Linked DNA regions of Homo sapiens: all the other regions are linked to region 2. The links are contacts of gene promoters, found by promoter capture Hi-C in blood cells and fetal thymus (Javierre and others, 2016). All regions are on one chromosome and are shown on one strand. The core of a region is centred on a gene start or on the middle of the fragment in contact, and the rest is flanking DNA. Distances in the headings are between cores, read along the strand shown. Region 1 has its middle 11 kb from the start of WNT7B. Region 2 holds the start of PKDREJ (polycystin family receptor for egg jelly). Region 3 has its middle 26 kb from the start of WNT7B.

What was found. Contacts are between HindIII fragments. The CHiCAGO score rates a contact against its expected background, and 5 or more counts as called.
Region 1: a fragment that was not itself captured here is called in contact with the fragment with the promoter of PKDREJ in region 2 in 1 of 17 cell types (neutrophils); the score reaches 5.1 in neutrophils.
Region 3: a fragment that was not itself captured here is called in contact with the fragment with the promoter of PKDREJ in region 2 in 5 of 17 cell types (neutrophils, megakaryocytes, M0 macrophages and 2 more); the score reaches 10.6 in neutrophils.

Annotation. Positions count from the first base shown.
Region 1 is chr22:45,986,205-45,990,707 of GRCh38, reverse strand. No RefSeq gene overlaps it. Among named protein-coding and RNA genes, the nearest start is that of WNT7B, 11 kb to the right of the region's middle. RefSeq lists enhancers at 2,847-3,347, 3,348-3,848. The HindIII fragment of the contact is 8,373 bases long and covers 1-4,503 here.
Region 2 is chr22:46,262,079-46,266,906 of GRCh38, reverse strand. It overlaps PKDREJ (polycystin family receptor for egg jelly), which reads left to right and starts at 3,564. Exons shown (of 1, transcript NM_006071.2): 1 at 3,564-4,828. The coding sequence starts at 3,585. The HindIII fragment of the contact is 7,014 bases long and covers 1-4,828 here.
Region 3 is chr22:46,001,369-46,005,688 of GRCh38, reverse strand. No RefSeq gene overlaps it. Among named protein-coding and RNA genes, the nearest start is that of WNT7B, 26 kb to the right of the region's middle. The HindIII fragment of the contact is 8,534 bases long and covers 1-4,320 here.

The sequences.
Region 1 (4,503 bases), core at 1,413-3,912, 280 kb after region 2:
TTTGGGCACAGCAACTCTGAAGAGCAATCAGCCCCAGCCCAGGTGGGATCACTGCAAATGTGGCCTTCAAACTCCAGTAATCCTGGCAATGCCCTGGTCTCCGCAGTTAGTGTGACTCGCTGGTTGAGCTGAACACTTAGCGTGTGCCAGGCCCTCACTTAGGGCTTCATGCGCCCACAGATCAAGGTGCTGGGTGTCCTTTCACAGATGGGGAAGCTGAGGCTCGGGGTCACAGAGCCTGGTGGTCCACTGTCCCCGTCTCCAGACTCTGCCCCCAACACCCACTTTCTGTTCACTGTGGACCCAGGATCAGCTGTGACAGCTCCCGAGGAGGCCCCCCAGCACCCTGCTGGGTAGATGGTGTTACCTCCTTAAACCTCCCGGTGATGTGGACATTCACACCTTTGGTTGAGGTGTCCTGGAGAGGAATGATTTGCCCGAATCCCACGGCGTGTACACGGAAGGCCCGGGTTCGAATTGGACTCAGTCTGAGCTGTTGCCCGAAGTCTTCCGCAGCTGTATAGCCTTACAGCTATGAAGGCATTTTCTGGGCCTGGGTTGGAGCCCACCCTCACGCCCTGGCCACTGCCTCCTGATGGCCTGTGTGCATTCTCAGGCTGAAATGGGGACCCCTGTGGAGAGGGGCTAAGGAGTCCAGGTCTGTGTGCCAACCTCCCTAGGCGGCCCCTGCAGGGAAGGAAGATTGTATGGTCCAGCCAGGGACCCCAGGCCGTGGGTCTGATGCCAGATCTGCCAGCTGTAGTCACCCAGTAGGAGATGGCGAAACAGCCCTGGGGAACCCCACTGTCAGCACCAGAGTTCCTGGCTCCTGGGGCTAGCATGCTGGGGCTCAAACCCCTGCTTGATGACTGTGTGACCCTGGCAGCCTCCCTGGGTCTCGGCCTTCCCACCCTTAAAGCAAGAGGTTCAGACCAGATCAGTGGTTCTTGGTCGTTCATGGGTCCTGTGTGGTGTGGGGGAAGCAGGCCAGTTTCCAGGCGTCGATGCCATCAGTGGTCAGCCCTGGGGCTGTGACTCTTGGTGCCCAAGACTAAAACAGACACCCCATGACTTTCAGGAGATCACCCTGACAGGTAGGATCGTGGCTGCAGGTTTGCTTAAAACGAAATTGTTTATTTGGGCTGTTCTGATTCCTGCAAGCAGGAGCTCAGATGTGCCTGTGGCTCAGCTTAAGCCTGGCCACCCGGTCCCTGTCCTGGGGGTGTCCACGAAACAGGATGAATAGAATCTGGGTCCTCCACACCAAAAAGTCCAACGCTCATATCTTAGACCAGTGGTTCTCAACTGGAGCCAATTCTGCTCCCCGGGAGACATTTGGCAATGTCTGGGGATACGTTTTGTTGTCATACCTCAGGGGATGCTGTGTGCTAAAAGCGTCTAGTGGGCAGAGGCCAGAGACGCTGCTGAACATCCTACCGGGCACAGACGGTCCCCACCACAGGGAACGATCCTGCCCTGAATGCCCATGGTGCAGCCACAAGAAGCCCCAGCGGAGACAGGCAGCTGAGTGCTCGGTGTCGGGCCCTTGCCTAGAAGGATGAGGTCCAAATGGTGGCCTGGCTTTCGGTGGCCTTTGTGGCCTAACCCAGCCTCAGCCCTGGGTGCTGGGCACTCTGGCATCATGTGCTAGGTTAGTCCCACTGGGTCGTGGCACTTTTAGAGGGTGGGCTTTATGCAGGGAACTCTGGAAGGCTCAGATTCAGCCTTGGGCATCCATCTTCTCCCCATGGGGGACTCAAGCAGGAAATCAAAGGACTCTTCATTCTGTGGTGGGAGGCACTGGAAAGGGCCTTCCCTCCTCCTCCCTCAAAGCTCAAACCTGGATCTTCCACCAGCAGTCATCAGTGCAGGGTGGAGGTCAAAGTGACCCTCATGGAAGGAGGAGGTAAAGGACTGCCCAGGGCACATTGCTTTTGCCCACCAGCAAACCCAGCTTAGCCAGGGTCCTGGAGCTGCCCCATCAGGGCGGTGCTGGTCGGTTGCCACAGGCGAGGAGTGATTGTATGTTGGGGTCAGGGAGGGCCAGGAGCATCCCTCTCCAGACTCAGGTCCTTGGCTCTCCTACCGAGGAAGGGGTTCATGGACAAGCGCAGACCAGGCCTCACCTGGACTCCAGATCCTCATCTGCAGAGATGGGGGCTCGCCCCTGCCTCAGCCTCACTCAGCACACCTGGCCCTCATCACCTCCTCTCTCGGCTGACTGCCAGGCTCAGGCAGCCTGGAGTTTTGGTCAAGGTGCAGCTGGATGTGCTGGGCAGCCTGACCTCAGCTCTCCTGGTCCTGGAGAGGACTTTTGTTAGAGACACAGAGCATTTGTTTTAACATAGAAGATGTGATGTGAGTTTGTCTATGAGGCAGTCCCGAGCCTCCCTGTCAAATGCCTCACCTCCTGGGTTCATGACCCTCACAGAGGTCAGAAGTCACAGGGAGCCTACACATTTCATTCCCAGTGAACCCATGCTAGCTCCTGGTGTTACAGGATCTTTTGGGTGTCGTCTTTTTAGCTGGAAACCTCTGTGACCAGTGGCGTCTTTGCCTGAGTTTTTGTCCTGCATCCAGGAAGAATGAGGTATGCAGACAAGTAGAGGGTAAGCAAGACAAAGAGGAGCTTTATTGAGTATTAGAACAGCTCAGAGGAGACCTGCAGTGGGTAGCTCCTCTTTCTAGGCAGGTTGTCCCATCGAGTGTTCAGCTCTCCGCAGAGAGGAAGCCCCAGAGAGGGTAGTGCCTCTCTGCAGGCAGGTTATTCTGACATCTCCTCAGGTCTCTGAAGCTCTCAGCAGAGAGGGTAGCTCCTCTCAGCAGCTGATCAACTTGTAATCTGCTCAGCTCTGGCTGAGCCCAGGGTTTTTATGGGCCTCAGAGGGGAGAAAGTGCATGCAGATTGGTCCATGGGTAGCCATGGGCAGGCCCAGAAAAGGCACCACAAATTCCCATTCAGGTTGGTGGGACTGGAAGCCCAGCCTCCAGCCTTCAGGCCCTCCCTGGCCCTAAAGGTGGAGCCTCACGGGGGACCCGTCCCCTTCCTCCCAGGAATGTGCCTGCCTCCTGCTGCCATTCATGGCACCAGGGCTTGGCCCTGACTTTGCTTTGAGATCAAAGCAGGCACTGACGGCAGGGAAAAGCCAGGCAGTGGGAACAGGCACTTCCAAGCCTGCAAGGGCAGTGGGGGCCTTCCCAGGTCCCTGAGTGCAGAAATTCCTGAGTCTGCAGCTACAGTTTTGGTGGCTGCAGCTGTGCCTGGGAGGGTAGGGCTCTTGCCTGCTCCTGTCCCAAGAGCACAGGGATGCTCAGATCTGCAGCCACAATTTGGGCGGCTGCAGCCCCACCTAGGAGGGTGGGGCTCCGGCCTGCTCCATGGAGTATGCGGCCCTGGCCATGCCTCCCTGCTGCAGTCTGTGTGATGGCAGTGGGAGGCCATCTTGGAGCAGCCACTGCCGTCACTGGTGCTCACCCCCTCCTTCTGCTCCCTGGGCTCTTGGATATCCCTTAGCTTCTGCCCTGAATTGGGTCAAGCTCCTGGATTTGCCTTTGGGGGCTCCTCATTCTCCCTCCAGAAATGCCAGAGCTCTGTCTGCCCTTCTCTGGATGAGGGGTCCTGGTGGGCACACACAGGCTCCTGCTGGAAATCATCTGACGCCCGCAGCCTCCTCCCCAGGTGGCCCCTGCTCCCCATCCCCAGTGGGGACTCTGTCCCTCCTGGGAGGGACTGCTTCTCCCCTAGGAGCCCTCCACCTCCCTTGGCAAGGGCTGGGAACCCCCTAGGGGCTCAGGGTGTACACTGAGAGGACTTGGGGTGTGGACCTTCCCACGGAACTTTCTGCAGTTTACACGTTTGCCAGAACTATCATTTGCCAATTGTGCTTGATCTCTGGAGCCACCTGGGTGTTGATTAAACATTCAGATTCCTAGCCCCTTCCCTGAGATATTTCGGAGAAGTGGGCCTGTGGTAATGCTAAAAATTGGCTGGTCAGGCAAGCTGGGGACACTCCATCCAGGGCCCACCTCTGGTGCCCCCCTCTCTCAAAATCTTCAGTAGCTCCCCAGTGACCATAAGTAACGTCCTGCTCCTTAGCCTGGCACTCCGGCTGTCTGTGCGTGTGCCCTTGCCTCCCCCTTTCCTCTGCTCCATAACCTGCTGGGCCTCCAGGAGCCATTGCTCACAGGGCTCCATCATTTCAACTTCTGCTCCCCATCGCCACATGGCCAAGCCCTCCTGTGTTTGTTTTATAGTGTGTATATATTACTACGAACTGAGCGGCTTACAACCACATCTATTTATTAGCTCACAGTTCTGTACTTAAGAACTCCAGCCTGGCGTGGATGCCTGCACTGCTCAGGGTCTCCCAAGGCTGCAATCAAGGCATCCCAGGGCTGGATCTTATCTGGAGGCTTTGGAAGGGATCCTCTTCCAAGCTCATTTGGGCTGTTGGTAGAATTCAGTTCCCTGTGGCTGTAGGACTGAGGTGCCCATTTCCTGGT
Region 2 (4,828 bases), core at 2,315-4,814:
ATTGTGCCACTGCACTCCAACCTGGGCAACAGAGCCAGACTCTGTCTCAAAAAAAAAGAATTCTTACAACTCAACAGCGAAATGACAAACAGCCCAAATTTAAAGTGGGCAAAGAATTTGAGGTGACAGTTCTCCAAAGAAGACACACCTTTCCTACAGCGTTTTCAAGGTTCATTCATACTGAAGGAAGAGGCAGACACAAAAGGTAACACTTGTATTAGTGCATTTACATGCATGTCCAGAATACGCAAACATAGAGACAGAAAGAAGATTGGTGGTGACCAGGGACTGAGGGGATAGGGATGATAAGTCACTGAAGCCTTGAACTCCTGGCTCCAGCAATCCTCCCACCTCAGCCTCCCATAAATGGTTACTTTTATGTGAACTTTACCTCAATAAAAGAGAATTTGTCTTGATTATTGAGTTTTTGGTGCCCCTCCACCCTTAAATTTTGCACTTGAGCTGAGTACTAATATGGACTAATACAGTAAATTGGTACCATTAGAGTGGGGTGTTGCCAAAAATATACCTGAAAATGTGGAAGCAACTTTGGAACTGGGTAACAGGCAGAGGTTGGAACAGTTTGGAGGGCTCAGAAGACAGGAGTATGTGGGAAATTTTGGAACTTCCCAGATACTTGTTGAATGGCTTTGCCCAAAATGCTGATAGTGATATGGACAATAAGGTACAGGCTGAGGTGGTCTCAGATGGGGATGAGGAACTGGAGCAAAGGTGATGCTTGTTATGTTTTAGCAAAGAGACTGGCAGCATTTTGCCCCTGCCCTAGAGATTTGTGGGACTTTGAACTTGAAAGAGATGATTTAGGGTATCTGGCAGAAGAAATTTCTAAGCAGCAAAGCATTCAAGAAGTGACTTGGATGCTGTTAAAAGCATTCGGTTTTAAAAGGGAAACAGAGCATAAAAGTTTGAAAAATTTGCAGACCGAAAATGTGATAGAAAATTCCATTTTCTGAGGAGAATTCAAACCAGCTGCAGAAATTTGTATAAATAACAAGCAGCCAAATGTTAATCCCCAAGACAATGGGGAAAAGGTCTCCAGGGCATGTCAGACGTCTTCATGGCAGCCCCTCCCATCACAGGCCTGGAGGCCCAGGAGGAAAAAGTGGTTTTGTGGGCTGGGCCCAGGGTCCCCAAGCTGTGTGCAGCCTAGGGATTTGGTGCCCTGTGTCCCAGCTGCTCCAGCTGTGGCTGAAAAAGGCCAATGTAGAGCTCGGGCTGTGGCTTCAGAGATTGCAAGCCCCAAGCCTTGGCAGCTTCCATGTGGTGTTGAGCCTGCAGTTGCACAGAAGTCAAGAATTGAGGTTTGGGAACCTCTGCCTAGATTTCAGAAGATATATGGCAACACCTGGATGCCAGGCAGAAGTTTACTGTAGGGGGAAGGCTCTCATGGAGAACCTGTGCTAGGGCAGTGTGGAAGGGAAATGTAGGGTTAGAGCCCCCACACAGAGTCCCTACTGGGGCACCGCCTAGTGGAGCTGTGAGAAGAGGGCCACCATCCTCCAGACCCTAGAATGGTAGATTCACCAACAGCTTGCACCATGAGTCTAGAAAAGCTGCAGACACTCAACACCAGCCCACGAAGGCAACCAGGAGGGAGGCTGTACCCTGCAAAGCCACAGGGGCGGAGCTGCCCAAGACCATAGGAACCCACCTCTTGCATCAGCATGAGCTGGATTTGAGACATGAAGTCAAAGGAGATAATTTTGGAGCTTTAGGATTTGACTGCCCCACTGGATTTCAGACTTGCATGGGCCCTATAACTCCTTTGTTTGGCCAATTTCTCCCATTTGGAATGGTTGTCTTTACCCAATGTCTGTACCCCACTGTATCTAGGAAATAACTAACTTGCTTTTGATTTTTTTTCTGTTTTTTGAGACAGAGTTTCGTTCCTGTTGCCCAGGCTGGAGTGCAATGACACGATCTTGGCTCACCGCAACCTCTGCTTCCCGGGTTCAAGCGATTCTCCTGCCTCAGCCTCCCGAGTAGCTGGGATTACAGGCATGCACCACCACACCCGGCTAATTTTGTATTTTTAGTAGAGATGGGGTTTCTCCATGTTGGTCAGGCTGGTCTCAAACTCCCAAGCTCAGGTGATCTGCCCGCTTCAGCCTCCCGAAGTGCTGGGATTACAGGGTGAGCCACTGCGCCCAGCCAGTTGCTTTTGATTTTACAGGCTCATAAGCATAAGCGACTTCCTTTGTCTCAGACAGGACTTTGGACTGTGGACTTTTGAGTTAATGTGAAATGAGTTAAGACTTTGGAGGACTGTTGGGAAGGCATGATTGGTTTTGAAATGTGAGGAGATGAGATTTGGCAGGGGTGGAATGATATAGTTTGGCTCTGTGTCCCCACCCAAATCTCATCTTATAGTCCCATAATTCCCACATGTTGTGGGAGGGACCGGGTGGGAGATAACTGAATCACAGGGGCAGTTTCCCCCATATTGTTCTGTGGTAGTGAATAAGTCTCAGGAGATCTGATGCTTTTATCAGGGGTTTCCGCTTTTGCGTCTTCCTCATTTTCTCTTGCCACTGCCATGCAAGAAGTGCTTTTTGCCTCCTGCCATGATTCTGAGGCCTCCCCAGCCATATGGAACTGTAAGTCCAATTAAACCTCTTTTTCTTCCCAGTCTTGGTTATGTCTTTATCAGCAGCATGAAAACGGACTAATACAGGGGAGGGCCAATTAAGACCACGAGTTTGAGACCAGCCTGTGAAACACAGCAAGACACCATCTCTACAAAAATAAAAAATAAATCAGTCAGGTGTAGTGGTGTAGACCTGTAGTATGGGAGGCTGAGGCAGGAGGATTCCTTGAGCCCAGGAGTTCAAGGTTACAGTCAGCTATGATTGCACCATTGCACTCCAGCCTGGGCAACAGAGCAAGACCCTGTCTCTAAAATCATTCAATCCATCAATCAAGTCCCAAAATATACAGCAAAAATGGACAGAGTTAAAGAATGAGGCCAGGCACAGTGGCTCATGCCTGTAATCCCAGCACTTTGGGAGGCCGAGGTGGGTGGATCACTTGAGGTCAAGCCATTGCACTCCAGCCTGGGTGACAGAGACTCCGTCTCAAAAAACAAACAAACAAACAAACAAACAAAAAACAAAACCCCCAAACCAACTAGAAAGAAAAGAGCAAAGCGACCCCAAAGTAAGAAACCGAGAGTCAGACCTTCCTGGGCGCCCAGGGATCTCACGGTTCCCTCCTGATCTCCCATTTTGTGACTGGCTTTCCCAAGGGTTCCTGCTGAAGCCCCTTCTCCGTGGTCAGCTCTGTGGTCTGCACGGGGCTGAACTGCCCTCCTGAGCCATCCTGACCCTGGGCCTGCACACACTTGGGGACGGAGAGGGAAGAGGTACCCAAGAAGTCCCCAGTGCCGACTGACCCCAAGCTCCGAGGTCCCAGCTGCTCTCTGGGACTCTGTCCCTGGGACCCCTCTGCCAGCGCCCTTCGACGCCCGAGACCCCCACTGTCCCCAAGACCCTCACTATCCCCGCGACCCCGGTGGCGGTTGGGCGCGCCTCGCGGCCTCTCCCAGCTTCTCCTGGGCCGGCGCCATGAGGCCTGGGCCCGCTCTCCTCCTTCTGGGCGTGGGCCTGAGCCTGAGCGTCGGCCGCCTCCCGCTGCCGCCGGTTCCTCGCGGGGCACAAGCCGCCGTCTCCGGGGCGCCCGGTGGCCTCCTCAGGGGCGCCCCGGGCCTCGGGGTGCGCGGCGGCCGCGCCCTCCTCAGTCTGCGGCCCAGCGCGGTGCGGGCGGGCGGCGCTGTCCTGAGCGGCCGCGGCAGCCTCTGCTTCCCCCATGGCGGGACCGGGCGGCGCTGGTACTGCCTCGACTTGCGCGTCCTGCTCAGCGCCCAACGCCTGCCCTGGCCGGCCGCGCCCGCGCTCGCGCTCGTCGACCTGCAGCTCTCCGCGCGCGGCGGCCGCCTCTCCCTGACGTGGTCCGTGCGGCTGCCGCGCTCGCCCGGGCGCCTGGCCTGGGCCTTCCGCCTGCGGCTGCTCGGACCCGGCGCCGCCCGCCCGGCCTCCCCCGCGGCCCGCGTCTCCCCGCGCTCCGCCGCGCCAGGCCCGCGGCCCCAGCAGGGCTTCGTGGCCCGCACCGAGTGCCCCACAGACGGCCCCGCGCGCGTGATGTTGCAGGCCGTCAACTCGTCCAGCCACAGAGCCGTCGAGTCGTCCGTGTCCTGTCAGATAAACGCCTGCGTCATCCAGCGCGTGAGGATCAACACGGACCAGAAGGGCGCCCCCGTGCGCCTGAGCATGCAGGCGGAGGCCACCATCAACGCCTCGGTGCAGCTGGACTGCCCGGCCGCGCGCGCCATCGCCCAGTACTGGCAGGTGTTCTCCGTGCCCGCCGTGGGTCAGGCGCCCGACTGGACGCAGCCCTTGGATCTGCCCCAGCTCGAGATCAGGAACAGCCCCTTGTTCATTCACATCCCCAATAATTCGTTACAGTGGGGAGTGTATGTGTTTAATTTCACGGTGTCCATCACCACAGGGAACCCCAAGATGCCCGAGGTGAAAGACTCGGACGCCGTCTATGTCTGGATCGTCAGGAGTTCCCTGCAGGCGGTGATGCTTGGCGATGCCAACATAACAGCTAATTTCACAGAGCAGCTGATTCTGGACGGGTCCACGTCCTCGGACCCAGATGCGGACAGCCCGTTACAGGGACTCCAGTTCTTTTGGTACTGTACCACAGATCCCAGAAACTACGGTGGGGATCGAATAATCCTGGGGAGCAAGGAAGTCTGTCACCCCGAGCAGGCCAATCTGAAATGGCCCTGGGCCTCGGGCCCTGT
Region 3 (4,320 bases), core at 134-2,633, 260 kb after region 2:
CTAGGTGCAGGGGACAGGGCTGAGGGAGCGGGGGAGGCGCCAAGATGTCAAGGCCGGCAGCCGTTCTCCTGGGGCAGAGGGCCAGTGCCCATGCCCGCACCTTGGGTCCCCAGGGCAGCCAGGTGGAGCCATACCACCTCCTCGGGCTTCACCTGCAAGCCCAGGCCCTGTGCTCACTGAGCCCCCACGCCCGCCAGGCCACTTCCAGAGGCTGTGCACACCCTCTGCCCAGATCCAGGAGAGGGGCTTTCACACAAGGAGGGAGAGGCTCAGAACCCTGGCAACCTACCCAAGGCATGGCACATGGGGCTACACGGGTGGATTGGAAGCTGGGTTGGCCACCTGAACCCCTGGGGTCCTGGCATTTCCAATGTCACCATCAGAAGGGTGGATGGAGGCCGGGCGTGGTGGCTCATGCCTGTAATCCCAGCATTTTGGGAGGCCGAGGCAGGCGGATCACCTGAGGTCAGGAGTTCGAGGCCAGCCTGGCCAACATGGTGAAACCCCGTCTCTCCTAAAAACACAAAAATTAGCCAAGCATGGTGGCAGGTGCCTGTAGTCTCAGCTACTTGGGAGAATGAGGCAGAAGAATCGCTTGAACTCGGGAGGCGGAGGTTGCAGTGAGCTGAGATCACACCACTGCACTCCAACCTGTGCGACAGGGCAAGACTCTGTCTCAAAAAAAAAAAAAAAAAGAAAAAAGTAAAAGAAAAAAGAATGGAGGACGGAAGGGCCACACCATGCAGGTGCTGGGGTCCTGGCGTTTCATTTTCAATGTCACCATCAGAATGGAGGATGGGAGGCCGCCCCGCGAATGGAGGGCGGGAGAGCCATGCCATGCAGGTGCTGCCTGCTTGGGTTCCTGTGCTGGGACTGCCTCTCTCATCTATCACCTTGCACCTCCATCGCTGTGACACCCTTCACCCGCCGGGCCCCCACAAAACATGCTTGGGCTCTGCAGCCAGACTCCATCCTCCCCCACCAACCGTCCGACTCCTAGAGCCCTCTCCTGGACCCCCAGCACAGCGCGTGCGTGACGGAACCCTGCAGAGCCACTTCCTGTTAGAATCAGAAGGGCTGTCAGCCACTAAACCCAAGTGCCAACTTTTGGTGACGGAGAAATAGATCCAGATAGAGGGAGGACTTGATCAGGCCCAGGGTGGCCAGAGACCCTTTGGACTGCGACCAGAATCCCAGGGGCCTGTCACCGGCCCAGCGTCTGAGGTCCTGAATCCCTGGAAATCAATAAAGGCAGGCAGGTGGGAGGCTGGAGGCCTCGCAGCCCACCCAACCCACATCCACCACACTCTCACACCAAGCCCTCAGCGTGCTCGGAGCATGGCGGTGGGCTTTACCCCTCCAGCCCCTCTACCTGGGATGCCACACAACTCTTCAGGGCCAGGGGAGTCCCCTCCTAGGGCCACCGTCCCCAAGGCACCCAGGGATGAGTCACTCTCTCTCACCCCAGGCCACCCAGGAGAGTTGACATCAGTCACATGTCTGCCCCTCAGACTGGGAGAACCCTGGAGCAGGGACCCCATCCCCTGCCTCTGTGAATCCCTAGCATTGGCCCATGGTGTGAACACCAGCAGCCACAGCACTGAGACCTAGCCAGGGCTTCCCAGTTTCCTGGGCACCAGCTGTTCTTCGCAGCCTCTTCCATGCTTGCTGGGAAGCAAGGTCTATCATGACCCTAGGCGCAGAAGGACAAGAAACAGAGAGGTTGAGTAAGATGCCCGACGACACACAGCTGGAGTCAGCAGAGGCTGGAAGGGTGCTGGGCGGCCTGGCTCCCAGCACGAGGCATCCTACCTGAGGACAGTAGACGGGCAGCTAAAGGACCCTCAGCTGACCACACAGGCCGGGCCTGGGCATGTCTGCGGCATGACCCCCTTGGGCCTTGTCACCTCCTCTCATCCCCTAGATCGCAGGACAGCAAGGTGGTCACACCCAGATTGCCTGAGTGTGCATTCTTTCCTTCCACGTCGGAGCACTTGGTCGGAATCCTGCCCACACAGGATGCACCTCACGAGGTGTTCACTCACCAGTCTCCCAGAGCAGAGGGGTCTGGGGAGAGGGGACACAAGATGGCATTGGGAGTGACAGCAAGACTGACTGTCTTGCGGGGCCCTCAGGCGCTGGCCTCCAAGGCCAGGTCCCCCAGGAAAAGCCTAGACAGAGGGGAGCAGGAAACCCGGTCCCAGCCCAGGGCGCCCACTCCCTGCCGGCCAGGCCAAGCCTCCCGCGTCCGGCCTCCTGGGTGCTGCTCACTCATCCATCAGACCAGTGTGATGGGGTCATTCGCTCCCATTCCCAGGCGGGGGAGGCTCCAGGAGATGTGGGTGGATGTGGGTTTACCCTGTGGATGGCCTGAGGCCTGAGGACTAGGAAGGTCCATCTATCTGTCCCTTGGCAGATGGCCACAGTGCCCAGGGCGACAACAGGGTGAGCTCTGCTCACATGGGTCCTGATGCAGATAGGGGGTGTCTGGGCCCCTGTCACCCCTGTGGAGTCTTCCTCGCCTTCCTCTGGGCGGGTCTTCTCAGGTCCAGCTCAAGGGCATCTGGGAGGGGAGGTGGCCTGAAAGCTCGGAGGCCCTGCAAAGCTGGCTGCAGTTAGGAAAGCCACTAAGTCATTATTTTGGGGTTAAATCAGAACTAATCTACCCAAGCCAATGGCTGGGTCCCCTGAAGGGAGGACACTCATGACTCAGCTGCTTGAGCCTGGGGAAGTGGTGTCCCTGAGATCCAGGAATGTGAGGGAGGATGACACCATCCACCAGGCCTGGCCCAGCGGGAGCAGCTAGTGTGGCTGCCTCTCGCTGTGCCCACCCCACCCTCAGCATCTGGCTTTGTCCACCTCTGGCCAAGGCCCACTCTGTTTGGGCTGCACTGTTGCCCGGAAGCCCTCCATGCCCCAGCGAGAGTCTCCCTCCCTGGCCTCTGTCCCTCCATTTCTCCATCAGTGGCCACCAGGGCAGTTTTCTTTTTCTTTTCTTTTTTTTTTTTTTGAGACGGAGTCTCACTCGCCCAGGCCGAAGTGCGGTGGCACGATCTCGGCTCACTGCAACCTCCGCCTGCCGGGTTCAAGCAATTCTCCTGCCTCAGCCTCCTGAGTAGCTGAGACTACAAGCACGCGCCACCATGCCCGGCTAATTATTTGTACTTTTAGTAGAGATGGGGTTTCACCATGCTGGTCAGGCTGGTCTCGAACTCCTGACCTCGTGATCTGCCTGCTTCAGCCTCCCAAAGTGCTGGGATTACAGGCGTGAGCCACCGCAACCAGCCCACCAGGGCAGTTTTCTTAAAAGGGGACCCTGCCTGGTTATGGTAATGGCTCTCCTGCTGGCCCTGGGGGCGGTTCAAGCCTTCAGGGCAACTCTCAAGGCTTCCAAAGCACACCCCCACCCCTCGTTCCTCCCCCCACTGCTCCTTCCCCTTTGACGCCCCCTGCTCTGCTAGGCTGGGGATGTAGGGTCTGAATGTGCCATCTGGACCCACCAACCCCTCACCCAGGCTGTGCACCGGAGAGACCTCACTGTGGGACACAGGAGCCAGGGTGGGCAAGGGGGTAGGGGGCTGCTGCCGTCACCACTGAGGAGTACAGCCCCACCCTTGGCCTTGAGCAGCCCCCAGTCCTGCGTGTGGGGCCGCCAGGCTGCAGGGGGCCTGGACCCATGGCGGTGGCTGTTGATTCAGCTGTCTGGTTGGCGCCAGCTCCCCTGCTGGGGCCGAGTCTTTCTGGAGTTAGACCCTGCAGCCCTGTCCCCACTGAGCCAGCACGAGGGCAGTGACCGTCTCAAAGCAGCTCTTCTCCATGGAAGTCTTAAGGGGCCCCTTGGCCGGAGTCCCACGAGTGACAGCTGGCAGCCCTCTTGGCTCCCTGGGGGAAGCAGATAGTGTGGCCCCTTAATTTGGGCCACTTGAGGAGCGTTTAAAAACAGGACAAAGGCGTGGGCCCAGCTCAGGAAAAGCTAGGAGGGAAGGAGCCGTTCTCTGGGGCTGGTGGCCAAACGGGGAGGTAGCTGCAGCCACTGGTGGCAGGGACCCTTAGGCCTCCTGCCAGTGCCTCGCGCCGGCAGAGGCCACGGACAGGTCCCAGCACAGGGAGCTGGCAAACGTGCCCACAGGGTCGGCCTCTGGGCCAGCTGGAGCAGGTGCAGTGAGGGGCTGGGAAGGCATAGAGAAAAGCGGCAGCGGGGCTCTGAAGATGCAAGCCTGGTGGCTGGAGCATGTTCCAGTGAGGGACAGGCAAAGCTGCCAGGGCAAAGGGCGGATTTCCTGATACAGGAGTGGAGGATGCTGTGGAAGGGCTGGATCT